Linked DNA regions of Homo sapiens: region 2 is linked to region 1. The links are contacts of gene promoters, found by promoter capture Hi-C in blood cells and fetal thymus (Javierre and others, 2016). All regions are on one chromosome and are shown on one strand. The core of a region is centred on a gene start or on the middle of the fragment in contact, and the rest is flanking DNA. Distances in the headings are between cores, read along the strand shown. Region 1 holds the start of GFPT2 (glutamine-fructose-6-phosphate transaminase 2). Region 2 has its middle 17 kb from the start of FLT4.

Region 1 (6,843 bases), core at 1,420-3,919:
ATTTTCTGTCGCAGAAAGTCAGCAAAATGCCAGCAACTTTCAGATGTCAATAAAACCAAAGTGTCATTTCAGCTAAATTCTCAGTGCACTGAAAGTTTTTGAGAATCATCTGCTGTTTGTAGAGGATCAACTACTGCCGAGTCCTGGCTTCCCATGAGAGAAGCAGCAGGATAAAGGACAGCAAGACATAATCTCAGCAGTGTCATCAGCCAAGTGATAAGGAAGGGCCTTAGGTCTCCGCCCCTGAGGGAACGGCCCAGGAGATCTGAGACCCGAGGCCTGCTCAGACGCCAGGTGCGCACAGACTTCGCAGGGCCTCAGCTTCCCCAGCGTAAAGTGAAGAGCTTATCTGGTTCTTTCTAGGAGCATCTTCACGATTCTTGCAGTATCCTTGTACTAATAGCATAATCACTACTTTTTCTTCTGCAGAATTTGATTAAATTTTCAAAAATTTAAATGAATTCATGCCAAAAGAAAACAACCATAAAAGGAAAATCAGTATCACTTGTCATACATACTCAGACCATCATCCCCCCCAAACAGACCAATGTATTCAATTCTAGCCAGCTGCTGCTGCCTGCTCTGAGCCAGGAATGGCTTCCCCTCTGCACAGGATACTTAAGCAAGTGTCAGAGAGATGTTAAGGACACGTTAGCACCAAGTTGAAACTTTCTCCTGATGTTCTTGAAAAGGAAATAACTTTCCCATGCAGGGATTCCACGACTTCCTGCTGAGCTGTGCCCTCCCCACTTCCCCCACCCTGCCCCCAGCCCCAAATCAGCAAATCTGGGAATTCTGAGAAGGCACCTAAGCCAGCACGCACTCTTTGATTCTGGCTCCGAGTGGGCACCCCCATGGACCGCAGCCACTCCTGAGCCCTGGGTGTCCTTTGGGGACCTCAAGCTCCTTCTCACATACAACCACAAGTCAGTACCAGAAAATCTGAAGATACAGGTGGTCACACCCCAAAGCTCAACCTTTCCCTAGGAGACAACGCGTGTGTGTCCCTTTAAGAAGCAGAACAAAAACACTTGTGATTTTGTGAGCTGGAGGAGGTAGAGCCCCCCCAAAGCTCAGAGAGACTTGGGAAAAAGCAAGATGCCAGTAGGAAGGAGGATGACAGGCAGGGGTGGCAGTGGGGGCAGAGGAGCATCTGAAAGGAAGGGGAAGGGGAGCCTCTGGTGCTGTGGGCAGACCCTCCTGGTTCAAGGGTCTCCTGCACAAGTCTGGCCCCAAGGCCACCAGTTTTGGCCAAGGGTCTTGAATGCTACACTGAGAGGTGTGGAACATCAGGGCTTGGACATCTGGCAAAACTACCACCTTTGCCTCATCTCTGCCCCCAGAAACACCCAAAGGTGGCTCTACACATGGAGAATGGCGTCTGGGAGCACGAGATTTTAGCTGAGGGTTCAGGAATTTCCACGGATGCCTGTTCAGCCTGGGTGAGGCGGCATCCCGAAGCACGCTGCCCGCTCCGCCGTAGGTCGTTCCCTTCTGCCGAGCAGCTGGCCTCCGAGACAAGAGGCCTGCACAGACCTCGGCCAGGGCTCACCGCGGGCGCACCCCACCCCGGCCCTCAGCAAAGTCAGAGAGAGGCCTTTCATGGCTTCGAAAGTTCCTCCAGGTCCTCCAGCCACAGGAGGCTGGAATGGGTAACCGAATCCTACTCAAGGAAAAAAAAAAAAAAAAAAAAGAGCACAGTGACCTTTTGTCCCAGCAGAAGTTCCCGGCTCTCTCCCGGCCAGCGGAGGCGGCCCAGCCAGGAGAGTAAAGAATTGCAGATGTGCGCTCCGGGCCGCGGCCGCCCTCCCCACGGTCCCGCAGCCACGCGGGACAGCGCGGGAGCGCCGCGGGAATCGGACGCCCGGCCCCGCTCCCCGCCCCGGACTCCCTCTCGTGGCTTCGGGCCGAGGTTCGGGCAGTGACTGCCTCTTCCCCGCGCAAAGAGGCGGTAACGCGGCAGCGACCCTTCTAGGGACCAGACGTTCCTTTGGGGTCGCGAGGAGGACGCGCAGGCCCTGCCTGAGGCACTGACGCAGCGGGGGCGACCGGGCGGGCTGCGGGGACGGCGGGGCGGGGTCGCCTCTCCTCTCCTCGGTGGGCGCGGCGGGCTGAGTCGGGATGGGCGCCCCGCACTCGGGATGCGCCGGCCTGCGCGTGGCCGCCTTTGTGGGCGACTGGGAGACGTGGAGGAGAGCGACCTCGGTCGGCATGGGGTGGGGACCCCTCTGTTACGGGGTCCAGGCCGGACCGGACCAGGTCCCTCCCCTCCGTGGGGACCGGGCCTCGGTCCCCCTCACTGTGTCCGAGACCAGGAGTCGGGTTGGGCATCCCCCACCCACACCTCCGAGACGGCCACTCGGGGAACGCGGGTGAGGGGCAGCCAGGCCCGGCCGACGACAGCCCCTCGGTAGGGGCCCGGGGCAGATCGGCGCCCCCAGCCAGGTCCTCGGCGCCTGCTTGCGGGCGGAGGCGCGGAGAGGCTGCGGCGCCGGGACCCGCGGACGGCGTGGAGGAGGCGGCTCGGGCGGGCGCGGCACTCACCGCACATCGTGGCTGCTTCTCGGGCTCCTTCGCGGCTCGAGGGGGTCTGCCCGTTCGGACGCTGGGGCTCCTCCGTGGGCTCCTCCGTGGGCTCCGTGGGCTCCGTGGGCTCCGCGGGCTCCAGCTCCCGTCCGCTCGGCCTCCAGCCCTTATAACCCGGAGCCCTCCGAGAGGGCGGGGAAGGGGGCGGGGAAGGGGCGGGGCTTCCCCCGCCCGCCTGCTCCCATTGGCCCCCGGTTGTCGTGACAACGACGGGACCCGGCCCCCAGGAGCCAGGGAGGGGGGCCGAGGGGCGGCTCCCAGGCGCGGGTCGGGCGTGTAAGGCTGGGGCGCCGGGCGCCAGATCCCGGAGCGGGGCTTAGGGCAACCAACGGCCCGAGTTCAGACCCCGACTCAACCAGAGTAGGCGTGGAAGCCGGGCAGGGCCCGATCGCGCTGTGCCTCCGCTTTCCCGTCTGTGAAACGGGGCTACCCAGGGAAGCTCCCTCCCACGGGGTGCTGAGAAGTCAGACGGGCCGCGTAAGGGGCAGAGCGAGGGGTCCGGCATCACTCGCGCGCTCCGGAAACCCGCGTGAGCCGCTGTTCCTGCCGCGCTCCCATCTGAGTGACAGGCTTGTTTCAGAGCTCCGCAGACCTCTAAGCCTGGCCCTCACCCTGCGTGGAGAGAACGCCCGGGCTTGGCGGAGAGACGAGAAAACCGAGGCTCCCGGAGGCAGACAAGGACTCTGCCAAAACCGGACGCCGCGGCGGTGGCAGAATTCGACCCTGGGATTTGCCGCGGAGCCCGAGCTTGAAGGCGAGGGTTCCGCAGGTTGTGAACGAAGCTGGAGGCGCCCCAGGAAGCCCCGACCCCACCCGCGCCGAGCTGCCCCCTCCCCAGATCTGCCTCGCGCTGCAGGCCCGCGAGGGACCCGGGGGTTCCTACGCCTGGGGTCGGAATCCGACCCCCCAGTGAGGCACCAAGGCCCGCGTTTCTCCGCCCTGGTTCCCGGCCGTCCCTCCCGTTCCCCCTGCACTCTGGGCCCCTCGTCTCCCGAGGAAGGTCACGAGAACCGGCCCAACGTTTGCGCACTTTGAAGTTTTTTTTTTTCTTAAAAAAATCCTGAAATTCTAAACGGATCCTCCTCAGTCGTGTAAAAAAAAAAAGATTTTTACATCTCGTCTAGAGCATTTTTCTAACATAATCCCTCCCTAGTTTCACCGCGACTCTGCAAGCCCTGGGGGAAGGAGGTTGTGCCATTGGAGGGTTGGGAAAACTGAGGCTCCACGACAGCGAAGGAGGGGGCTTGGGTGAGTCCTGTTGTTGGGAAATCTCAGAGCGATTCAGGAGCCGCAGCGTTTGCCCCCAACCCTCCACTATGCAGGGTCGCTTTCCTTCCTTCCTTCTCTCATTCCTAAGAACCCACTTCACACCTGTCAGGGTGCAGGTGCAAGAGACTTATTGATGAATGAGAACAGATCTGGCCCTGCCCTCCTGGCACTTACAAGTGAAGGGGAAGCAGACACTAAGCTCGTGGTTACACAGAGAGCTAAAAATTCCAGGTAGGATACAAGGAGGGGGCTGGGCCAGCGGTGGAGAGGGTGCCAGGCTCTGCCTGGGACTGGGCAGGGCTGCGCTGGTGCAGGTGGTCCAGAGCCTAGCGAAGCCAGGAAGGAGGGAGCAGCAGGCAGTGCAAAGGTCCCCTGGATGAGGGCTAGAACTTGAATGTGGAGATCAGGTTGTTTGGCCCAGACTGGCCTCCACTGTTGTAACTGAGGCGGGGACAGGGTGATGTCAACAGGCCCTCTGATAGCACCAAGACCCCAGGAGCCCTGGGGTCTTAGCAGGGTCCAAATCTGTCCTTTATCCTCCTGGAGGAGTCACAGGTCCACGGTGAGGAACGGCATGAGTGCACACTACCACCCATGGGGATGTGTCTGTAGCAGCTGCCGGCCTAGCATCACTCCTGCTTTGAGAACCCTCTGAGAGTCATCTGGGAGGTTGATGGCCTGGGCCTGGCCACACAGCCTGGGCAGTGGTTCAGAGGTCAGCATATGGCCCAGGCTGGGACGTTGATGACCTGCTCCAGCACATGAGGGAAACCAGCAGAAAAGATGAACTTGGCCTGGTACAGTGGCTTGGGTCTGTCATCCCAGCACTTTGGGAGGCTGAGGTGGGAGAACTGCTTGAGGCCAGAAGTTGGAGACCAGCCTGGGCAACAGGGAGACCCATCTTTACAAAAAGTAAAAAAAAAAAAAAAAAAAAAAAAAAAAAGCCAGGCACGCTGGGTGCAATGGCTCATGCCTGTAATCCCACCACTTTGGGGGGCAAAAGTTTGAGATCTTTGGGATTGCTTGAGCCCAGGAGTTCGAGACCAGCCTGGGCAACACAGCAAAACCCGTCTCTACTAAAAACACAAAAATTAGCCAGGTGTGGTAATGTGCACCTGTAGTTCCAGCTACTCGAGAGGCCGAGGCACGAGAATGGCTTGAAACTGGGAGGTGGAGGCTGAAGTGAGCCAAAATTGCACCACTACACTCCAGCCTGGGCGACAGAGCAAGACTGTCTCAAAACAAAACAAAAATCCAGGTGTGATGGCACGTGCCTGTAGTCTCAGCTACTCAGGAGGCGGGAGGACTGCTTGATCAGCCTGGACAACATATTAAAACCTTGTCTCTACAAAATAATTTTTTTAAGTAAAAAAGATGGCTTATTCTCTCCTGAGTGGTGTGGCTGGTAGGAGAATGTCCTGATGATGCTGGGACCTTCTCATCACTTTTGCAGTGGGGTGGAGAGAGGCCACTGAAGAGCGGGGCAATCGGAGCAAGGCAGATGGATCTAGGATGGAGACGATACACATCAGAGCCCCTGGATTCGGCCAGGTCTGAAGCCAGGATTTATCCCTGGACTTCTCAGTATCAGGGCTCAATAAATTCTCATCTTTGCTTGAGGTACTCTGAAGTGACTTCTGTCATTTGCAACCAAGTAGAGTCCTGACTCTTGGATCGTGCTGGAACTAAAGTCTGAGGCCCAGGGGAGTGGGTAGGCAGGAAGCCGGTGGCAGCCCAGAAAGGAGACCTGGTCTGGATCAGGGGGCCCAGGAGGAGGGAAGATGCAGGGCCGTGCCCAGGAGCGTCTCTCAGCTGGACCCCATACATGTGCTTACACGGGGAGCCATGCCCAGGTGCCTCTCTCAGCTGGACCCCATACCTGTGCTTACAGGGGAGCAGGGTGCTGAGTCTGCTCCTAATGGTCCCAGTGTCCACTGCCCATCCTGCTCTCCACCGCTGGCCCCAGCCACACTTTCCCGGAGTGCCTCCACCCTTCTGGCCAGCAAGTGAGCCAAAGACCTGGCTGCTTCACCTACACAGCTTTTGCAAGCACTTGATAGTTGGGAGATTTGCTCATTGATCTGGCTTCTCCCGAACAACCCAGAGATCTTTTCCCCTCCCCCAGGCTCTACCCCCAACACAAACTGCCCAGCTGGGTCCCATGGCTGTCCAGGTAGATGAGGACTACACCTGCCATCCCTTGGCCACAGGCCCTGTTCAGCTGCTTTTCCCTGTGACATTTCCACTACGGTCTGGGGAGGGTTATGTGGCCCATGGTAGGATGAAGGCCTCCTCCAACTCCTGTGGGATCCAGGCTGGACTTTCGCCAATTCTCATGCTGTCATCAGGGTCCTCTCTACCAGTTTCCACCAGCCCAGCTCTGCCTGAATCTGGCTGGGCTATGGCTGCAGGGTGACCTGGAGTGGTCACCTGTTCTTCCTGATCTCCCTTTGCCCTTCCAGATGTAGAAATGCCAGGCACATCTCACTGTGGCCTAGAGACACAGCCCAGGCCAGGGACCACAGGGCCTCCTGAACTTCAGCAGAGGGCCCAGGGGGCTGGGGGTGCAGGTCCCTGAGGCCTGCAGCTGGGAGTCCTGCACTGGATCACTCCGTGGCGTGGGGAGGGAGATCCTAGGGGAACCTCTGAGTGCTGCCCACAGTGGGCAGTGGGTGGGGTTCAGGGAGCCCAGGGGAGACATCACAGGTGTCATGACTCGGACAAAGTGTCCTGCCTCAGGGAGGCCGATCCTCAGCTCAAACTTAAGATGATGGGGCACCAGGGGTAGCAGGACTAAGGGCCAGACCTGGGCATGGGGCAGGAAGCCACACCGCTCCACCCCCCGCCCCTCTTGAGAGGCTGGGATAGGGTGGATGGGGCATGAGCAGGTCACAAAAAAAAAAAAAAAAAGAAAAGAAAAGAAAAAAGAAAAATCCCTGGTTAGGAAAAATCTGAGAAAACTGATCTGGGGCCAGGATTCAAGGACAG
Region 2 (6,843 bases), core at 2,659-5,158, 310 kb after region 1:
TCGTGATCCACCCGCGTTGGCCTCCCAAGGTGCTAGGATTACAAGTGTGAGCCACCGCGCCTGGGCCTCCATTTAGTTCTTACATCTTCTTGACTTTCTCCACAGATTTTTTTTTTTTTTGAGGCAGAATCTCACCCTGTTCCCCAGGCTGGAGTGCAATGGCACGATCTTGGCTCACTGCAACCTCTGCCTCCTAGGTTCAAGCGATTCTCCTGCCTCAGCCTCCTGAGTAGCTGGGACTACAGGCGAGTGTGCCACCACGCCCAGCTAATTTTTGTATTTTTAGTAGAGATGGGGTTTCACCATGTTGGTCAGGCTGGTCTCGAACTCCTGACCTCAGGTGATCCACCCGCCTCAGCCTCCCAAAGTGCTGGGATTACAGGCGTGAGCCACTGCACCCGGCCTCTCCACAGATTCTTTTTGTTCTTTGAAAACACACACACACACACACACACACACACATACACATATATATTTTTTTGAGACAGAGTCTCACTCTGTCACCCAGGCTGGAGTGCAGTGGCCCGGTCTTGGCTCACTGCAACCTCTGCCCTCTGAGTTCAAGCAATTCTCCTGCCTCAGCCTCCTGAGTAGCTGGGATTACAGGTGCCTGCCACCGTGCCCGGCTAATTTTTTGTATTTTTAGTAGAGACGGGGTTTCACCATCTTGGCCAGGCTGATCTTGAACTCATGACCTCATGATCCACCTGCCTTGGCCTCCCAAAGTGCTGGGATTACAGGCATGAGCCACCATGCCTGGCCTCTTTGAACATATTTTAGACAGTTGGTATGAAGTCTTTGTGTAGTGGATCCTCTCCCAGCTCTTTTGCAGGGATGGTTCCTGTTGGTCTATTTTTTATTTTGAATGGGCCATACTTTACTGTTTCTTTGTATACTCTTGTTGGTTTTGTTTTTTTTTTTTTGGTCAAAAACTGGACATTTGAATCTAACACTTTAGTGACTCTGAAAATCAGAATTTCCCCTTTCTCCAGGGTTTGCTGTTTTTTGCTTTTGTATTTGTTTGTGTTTTGCTTTTTTGTTTTTTTGGAATTGTTGTAGACTGTCTTGGAGCTAAGGACCAGCTTGAGGTGTAACCTTAAGGTCTTCTCAGGCCTTTTCTGAAACTACGCCTTCCCCTGGGCATGCTTGGTAGCTTTCTAATTTCCCCTGTATATGCAGTTGCTTTTGAATGTCCTACTTTTTATTGTCTGGCTCCAAGAAGGGGAAATAGAGAGAAATTAAGGGGGAAAAAGTCACCAGTCCTTTAAGTCCCCTGGAAGTCACTTTACCAGCAAGGGAGGGGCTTGTAACAATGGGAGAAGGTGGCCGGGCGCGGTGGCTCAGGCCTGTAATCCCAGCACTTTGGGAGGCCGAGGCCAGCGGATCACGAGGTCAGGAGATCGAGACCATCCTGGCCAACACAGTGAAACCCCGTCTCTACTAAAAATACAAAAAAGTAGCCGGGCGTGGTGGCGGGCGCCTGTAGTCCCGGCGACTCAGGAGGCTGAGGCAGGAGAATGGCGTGAACCCGGGAGGCGGAGGTTGCAGTGAGCCGAGATCGCGCCACCGCACTCCAGCCTGGGCGACAGAGCGAGCCTCCGTCTCAAAAGAAAAAGAAAAAAGGAGAAAGTGCAAAGTGCAATAACAAGGGTTGCTGCCTCTTTGTCTGCACTTCTGTGATCAGATGAAGCAATCAGTGATCAGAACAGAGACTCAATATCTGGAGGACAGGGTCTCTCATACCTACCCTGGCTCCTGTCATCGATCTGTAAGCTGCTCCAGGAACGTGCACAGTTGCCTGCTGTGGGGATGAGAGGTGGGGAACAGGCAGCTGCAACTATGCTAAGAGCTCACTGACCAAAATTAACCACAATGTACCATCCGAGTCTTCCTGGAAGTTGCAGGCCTTCAATGGACTTCAGAGTTCCAAAATAGCTACAACAGACAGATTCTGTGAGTATTATTGTCTAGGTGAGGAGAGAGATTTCTCAGGCTTCCTGCTCCTCCATCTTCCCAGAATTCTCTACTTGGTCATTTTATTTTTAACAAGGCTTCTAAGACCATTCACCACGAGAAGAAATGGCCTCTCCAACAACTGGTGCTGGTACCGCTGGATAGCCATAAGCAATGAAGTTGAAACTTTACCTCACACTATAGACAAAAATTAACTCAAAATGGATCAAAAATTAACTCAAGGCCTAAATGTAAAAATGAAAATATAAACTTCTGAGGAAAGCCAAGTAGTAAATCTTCATTTGGCAATGGAAGCTTAGCTAGGATATTCAAGAAAAGAAAAAACGGATAAGTTAGACATCAAAATTAAGACATTTTTGTGCATCAAAGGACATTATACATTTAAAAAACCATGGAATGAGAGAAAATATTTGCAAATCAAATGTTTGATAAGGAACTTTATCTAGAATCTATACAGAACAGTTACAAGTCAATAATAAAAAGACCACAAATAACCCAATTAAACATGGGCAAAGGATCTTAATAATTTCTCCAAAGAAGATGTGCAAATGGCCAAATCAGCACATGAAAAGATGCCCAGCATCATTATCCACCAAGGAAATGCAAATGTAAGCCACGAGATACCACTTTATTCCAACTAGGATGAGCATAAGCAAAACAATGGAAAATAAACGTTGTTGGCAAAGATGTGGAGAAATCAAAGAGTTCTCATCTACTGCTGGTGGGAGTGGTAAGTGGTATGGTCACTTTAGAAACATTATGGCACTTCCTCAAAATGTTAAACATCAAGTTACCATATGACCCAGCAATTTCCCTCACAGGCATACGTAGATCCAGGAGAAGTGAAATGAAAATGTAGGTCCACACAGAAATGTGTGCACAAATGCTTATAGCAGCATTATTGAGAATAACCCAAAGATGGAAACAATTCACATGTCCGTCAACTAGTGAATGATAAATACCACGTGGCGTATTCACACGGTGGAATATTCTCACATGATAAGAAATGAGGTATAACAGAGGAATCTTGAAAACATCATGCTAATTGAAAGAAGCCAGTCAGGGCCGGGCGCGGCGGCTCTCACCTGTGATCCCAGCACTTTGGGAGGCCGAGGTGGGCGAATCACCTGAGCTCAGAAGTTCCAGACCAACCTGGGCGACGTGATGAAACTCTGTCTCTACGAAAATACAAAAAAAAAGTAGCCAGGCGTGGTGGCGGGCGCCTGTAGTTCCAGCGACTCAGGAGGTTGAGGCAGGAGAATCGCTTGAACCCAGGAGGCGGACCTTGCAGTGAGCTGAGATGGCGCCACTGCACTCCAGCCTGGGCGACACAGCAAGACTCCGTCTCAAAAAAAAAAAAAAAAAAAAAAAGCCAGTCTCAAAAAAACTCACGTATTATACTAGTTCATTTGTATGAAATGTCCAGAGTGGGAAAAGACGTAGAAAGTAGATTACTGGTTGTTTATTGGTTTGGGTGGGGGAGGGATGGAAGCATGAGGGAGTGTTACCTAAAGAGTGTGGGGTTTCTTTCTAGTGGCAGAAACATTCTCCTGATCACAGGGTCAGGAGTTCAGTTGTGCTGATGGCTGCAGCACTCTGTGAATATACTGAAAGGCACATTAAGTATACGGTATGTGAATTATATCTCAATAAAGTTGTTGCCAAGAAATTGACAGCACAGTTTACGCAGGTTAAATAGTTAAGAACTACATAAACACTACAATCAATGCGGCATTTTACCCTGTACAAGACCTCAAGGCTGCTTGTTAAAGTGGTTTTGGAAGGGCTGTAGCTTATGGTTTACCGTGAGGTGGTGGAAGGGAGGTTGTCTGAAACTGGGTGGGGTGGAAGTTTGTCCGGCCAAATGTGCACGGCTGTGGCTCGTCACACACCCAGCTGGAAGTGTGCGCGTGTGCTTTCTGCGCACTTCTACGTTGCTTGAGCAGCTGGACTGGGCATAATGTTCTGCATGCACTTGGTGTGTTTTGCAAATGAAATCGTGTATGAACAAATGCAAAAGTCACATTATGCTCAAATTCCCTCCAATATGTCAGTGCATTGAATAAAATGGCAATATTTATTTATTTAGAGACGGAGTTTTGCTCTTTTCACCCAGGCTGGAGTGCAGTGGCACGATCTCGGCTCACTGCAACCTCGGCCTCCCAAGTTCAAGTGATTCCCCTGCCTCAGGCTCCTGAGTAGCTGGGATTACAGGCTCCTGCCATCATGCCCAGCTAATTTTTGTTTTACGGTTTGTTTTGTTTTGTTTTTTTTTTTTTTGAGACGGAGTCTTGCTCTGTCACCCAGGCTGGAGTGCAATGGTGCAATCTTGGCTCACTGCAACCTCTGCCTTCCAGGTTCAAGTGATTCTCCTACCTCAGCCTCCGAAGTAGCTGGAATTGCAGGTGCCCACCACCACGCCCAGCTAATTTTTCTATTTTTGGTAGAGACAGGGTTTCGCCATGTTGGCCAGGCTGGTCTTGAACTCCTGACCTTAGGTGATCCACCTGCCCTGGCCTCCCTAAGTGCTGGGATTATAGGCATGAGCCACCATGCCTGGCCCTAATATTTAAAACAAGTATTATAGCATAACTGGCTGTAGCTGTATGCTTATATTTAAAATGTCTCTTGGCTTAAGAAAAACAGACTGACAATCTTTGACTTTAGTCCATTTACATTTAATGTAATTACTGATATATTTGGGTTGACATCTACCATATTACTATTTGTTTTCTATTTGTTTCATCATTCTGTGGTTCATTTATTCCTTCTTTCTTACAGTTTAAGGATCCATCAAGTTTTTTATTATTTTATTTTATTTTATTTTTTCTCTTCTATTAATGTGGTAGATGGCAAAGATGGCCACCATGCCTCACTTCTCCTTATATTCATGCACTTTTACAATGTGTGTTTGTAGCTTCTCCTGTTAAGGATGGAAGTCAGGGGCCGGGCGCGGTGGCTCACGCCTGTAATCCCAGCACTTTGGGAGGCCGAGGTGGGTGGATCACAAGGTCAGGAGTTCGAGACCATCCTGCCTAACATGGTGAAACCCCATCTCTACTAAAAATACAAAAAAATTAGCTGGGCGTGGTGGCGGGTGCCTGTAATCCCAGCTACACGGGAGGCTGAGGCAGAAGAATTGTGTGAACCCAGTAGGTGGAGGCTGCAGTGAGCTGAGATCGCACCACTACACTCCAGCCTGGGTGAGAGAGAGACTCTATCTCAAAAAAAAAAAAAGAAAAAAAAAGGAATTGAAGTCAATTTCTCCTCCCTTTGAAAAAGAAACGGCCTCTTAGCCATGTTAATTTAATTCAGCAAAAGTGACGATGTGAAGACCTTGTCCCTTTACAATCTTACGACATTGCCACTGCCATATGTAGCATGCCCAGGTTAGCCTGCTGGAGGGTGGGAAAGAGAAGGGGGATCACAAAGGATGAATGACTCAACTGTGAATTTCAGATTAAATGTTCTGAAATGCAGAGCAGAGCAAACATCCTGAAAACTGGAAGACTTTTGATTTGCAAGTGCTTGGTGGTAGACAAAGAAATACTTTTGCTTTGAACTCCGAAAAAGTCAAGCTTGGAGGACTCAGACCACAGAGTTTACAAAATGAAGGCATGAAGTGGGAAAGGAAGCAGCTATGGCATAAGAGCCATTTCCCCTGGGAAAGTTGTGCGTGCCATAGGGACACAGGAAGAAGAGAACGAGACAGGACCCTAGCAGCAGGCAGATGAGGCCTGGGTCGTCTGAGGGACTCTGTGTCCCCAGTACTTGGGCCTTGGCCCAGGAAGACACTAGGCGTGTGACAGCGGGCGGAGGACATCTCAGGCTGTGGAGGCAGTGCTTTGTGTGTTTGAGGCTTATCACGTGAGCACTGCACAGAACCCCACACCCAGCACACGGCTGGAGCACCTGCCCCATGGACAGCAGACATTTGAGGGCCAAGGGAAATGGCCACAGCGATAGGCCCAAGGAGGCCTCCCAGAGAAAGCCCTGCTCAGTGCAGGCCGGGCAGGCTGGAAAGGGGTCTCTGGGCCAGTCCCCACAGCACACACCTGGCAGAACGTCAGACCGGCCACACTGGAATGGCCAAAGACAGAGGAGACCCCAATCCTTCCTGGTGCTGGAGAGTGAACTTCGGGGAGCCTGTGCAACGTCCAGACTGGGATCACTCAGAGAGGCAGGGAGACAATGAGGGTGGGGGGAACCTTGACACTCCAGCCGTTGACCCAAGGGAGCCCGTGCTATCCTGGGAGGCGCTGCGATCTAATCTAGAAACAGCTGAACAAACTGTAGGCAGAAGTTTGTTTGTTGACACTATCTGTGGAAATGAGGGATAGTGTTGACAGCAATTTCATTCATTGATGGACAAAGAACTTCTGTGCCTCTGAGTTGTAGTGTGTAAATGTCAAAACCTCCACATTGATGTGAGAGAGGAAAAAGCCCCAGGAGGGCTTTGGTCACATAATAGACTACGCAGAGCGGACTCTCAGATGGCCGTGGAGCAAATTTGGTTGGTTTTTGGGTACTGAGGTGGGGAGATGGCCACGAGCTATCGTTGGGTGAAAAAGGCAAGTGACAGAACTAGAGGGGCAGTGTAATCCCTTCCAGTGAGAAAGAAGAGAGAAAGCAGAAAGGAAGGGAGGAAGGGAGGCAGGCAGGCTACAAGGAATGAATCTGGGGGCCTGCCAGTTGAGCCATCTGCCCTGTGGTCAGGGCAGCTGCTGGCCCGGGCTCAGGGTGCCCCTCTGAATGAAGGAAGAGGAAGACTCAGACAGCACCCCACGGCCCAACCTCATTCCATCCCCACAACTCAGGGCACGCCTGTGACTGACTTCCTTCCTCCTGAAATTGGCCCCCCTGGGGATA

The links. Contacts are between HindIII fragments. The CHiCAGO score rates a contact against its expected background, and 5 or more counts as called.
Region 2: a fragment that was not itself captured here is called in contact with the fragment with the promoter of GFPT2 in region 1 in 1 of 17 cell types (erythroblasts); the score reaches 5.2 in erythroblasts.

Annotation. Positions count from the first base shown.
Region 1 is chr5:180,350,667-180,357,509 of GRCh38, forward strand. GFPT2 (glutamine-fructose-6-phosphate transaminase 2) reads right to left here and starts at 2,670. Exons shown (of 19, transcript NM_005110.4): 1 at 2,545-2,670. The coding sequence starts at 2,551. RefSeq lists an enhancer at 824-1,324 and a silencer at 2,697-2,926. The HindIII fragment of the contact is 14,264 bases long and covers 1-6,843 here.
Region 2 is chr5:180,663,146-180,669,988 of GRCh38, forward strand. No RefSeq gene overlaps it. Among named protein-coding and RNA genes, the nearest start is that of FLT4, 17 kb to the left of the region's middle. The HindIII fragment of the contact is 3,284 bases long and covers 2,267-5,550 here.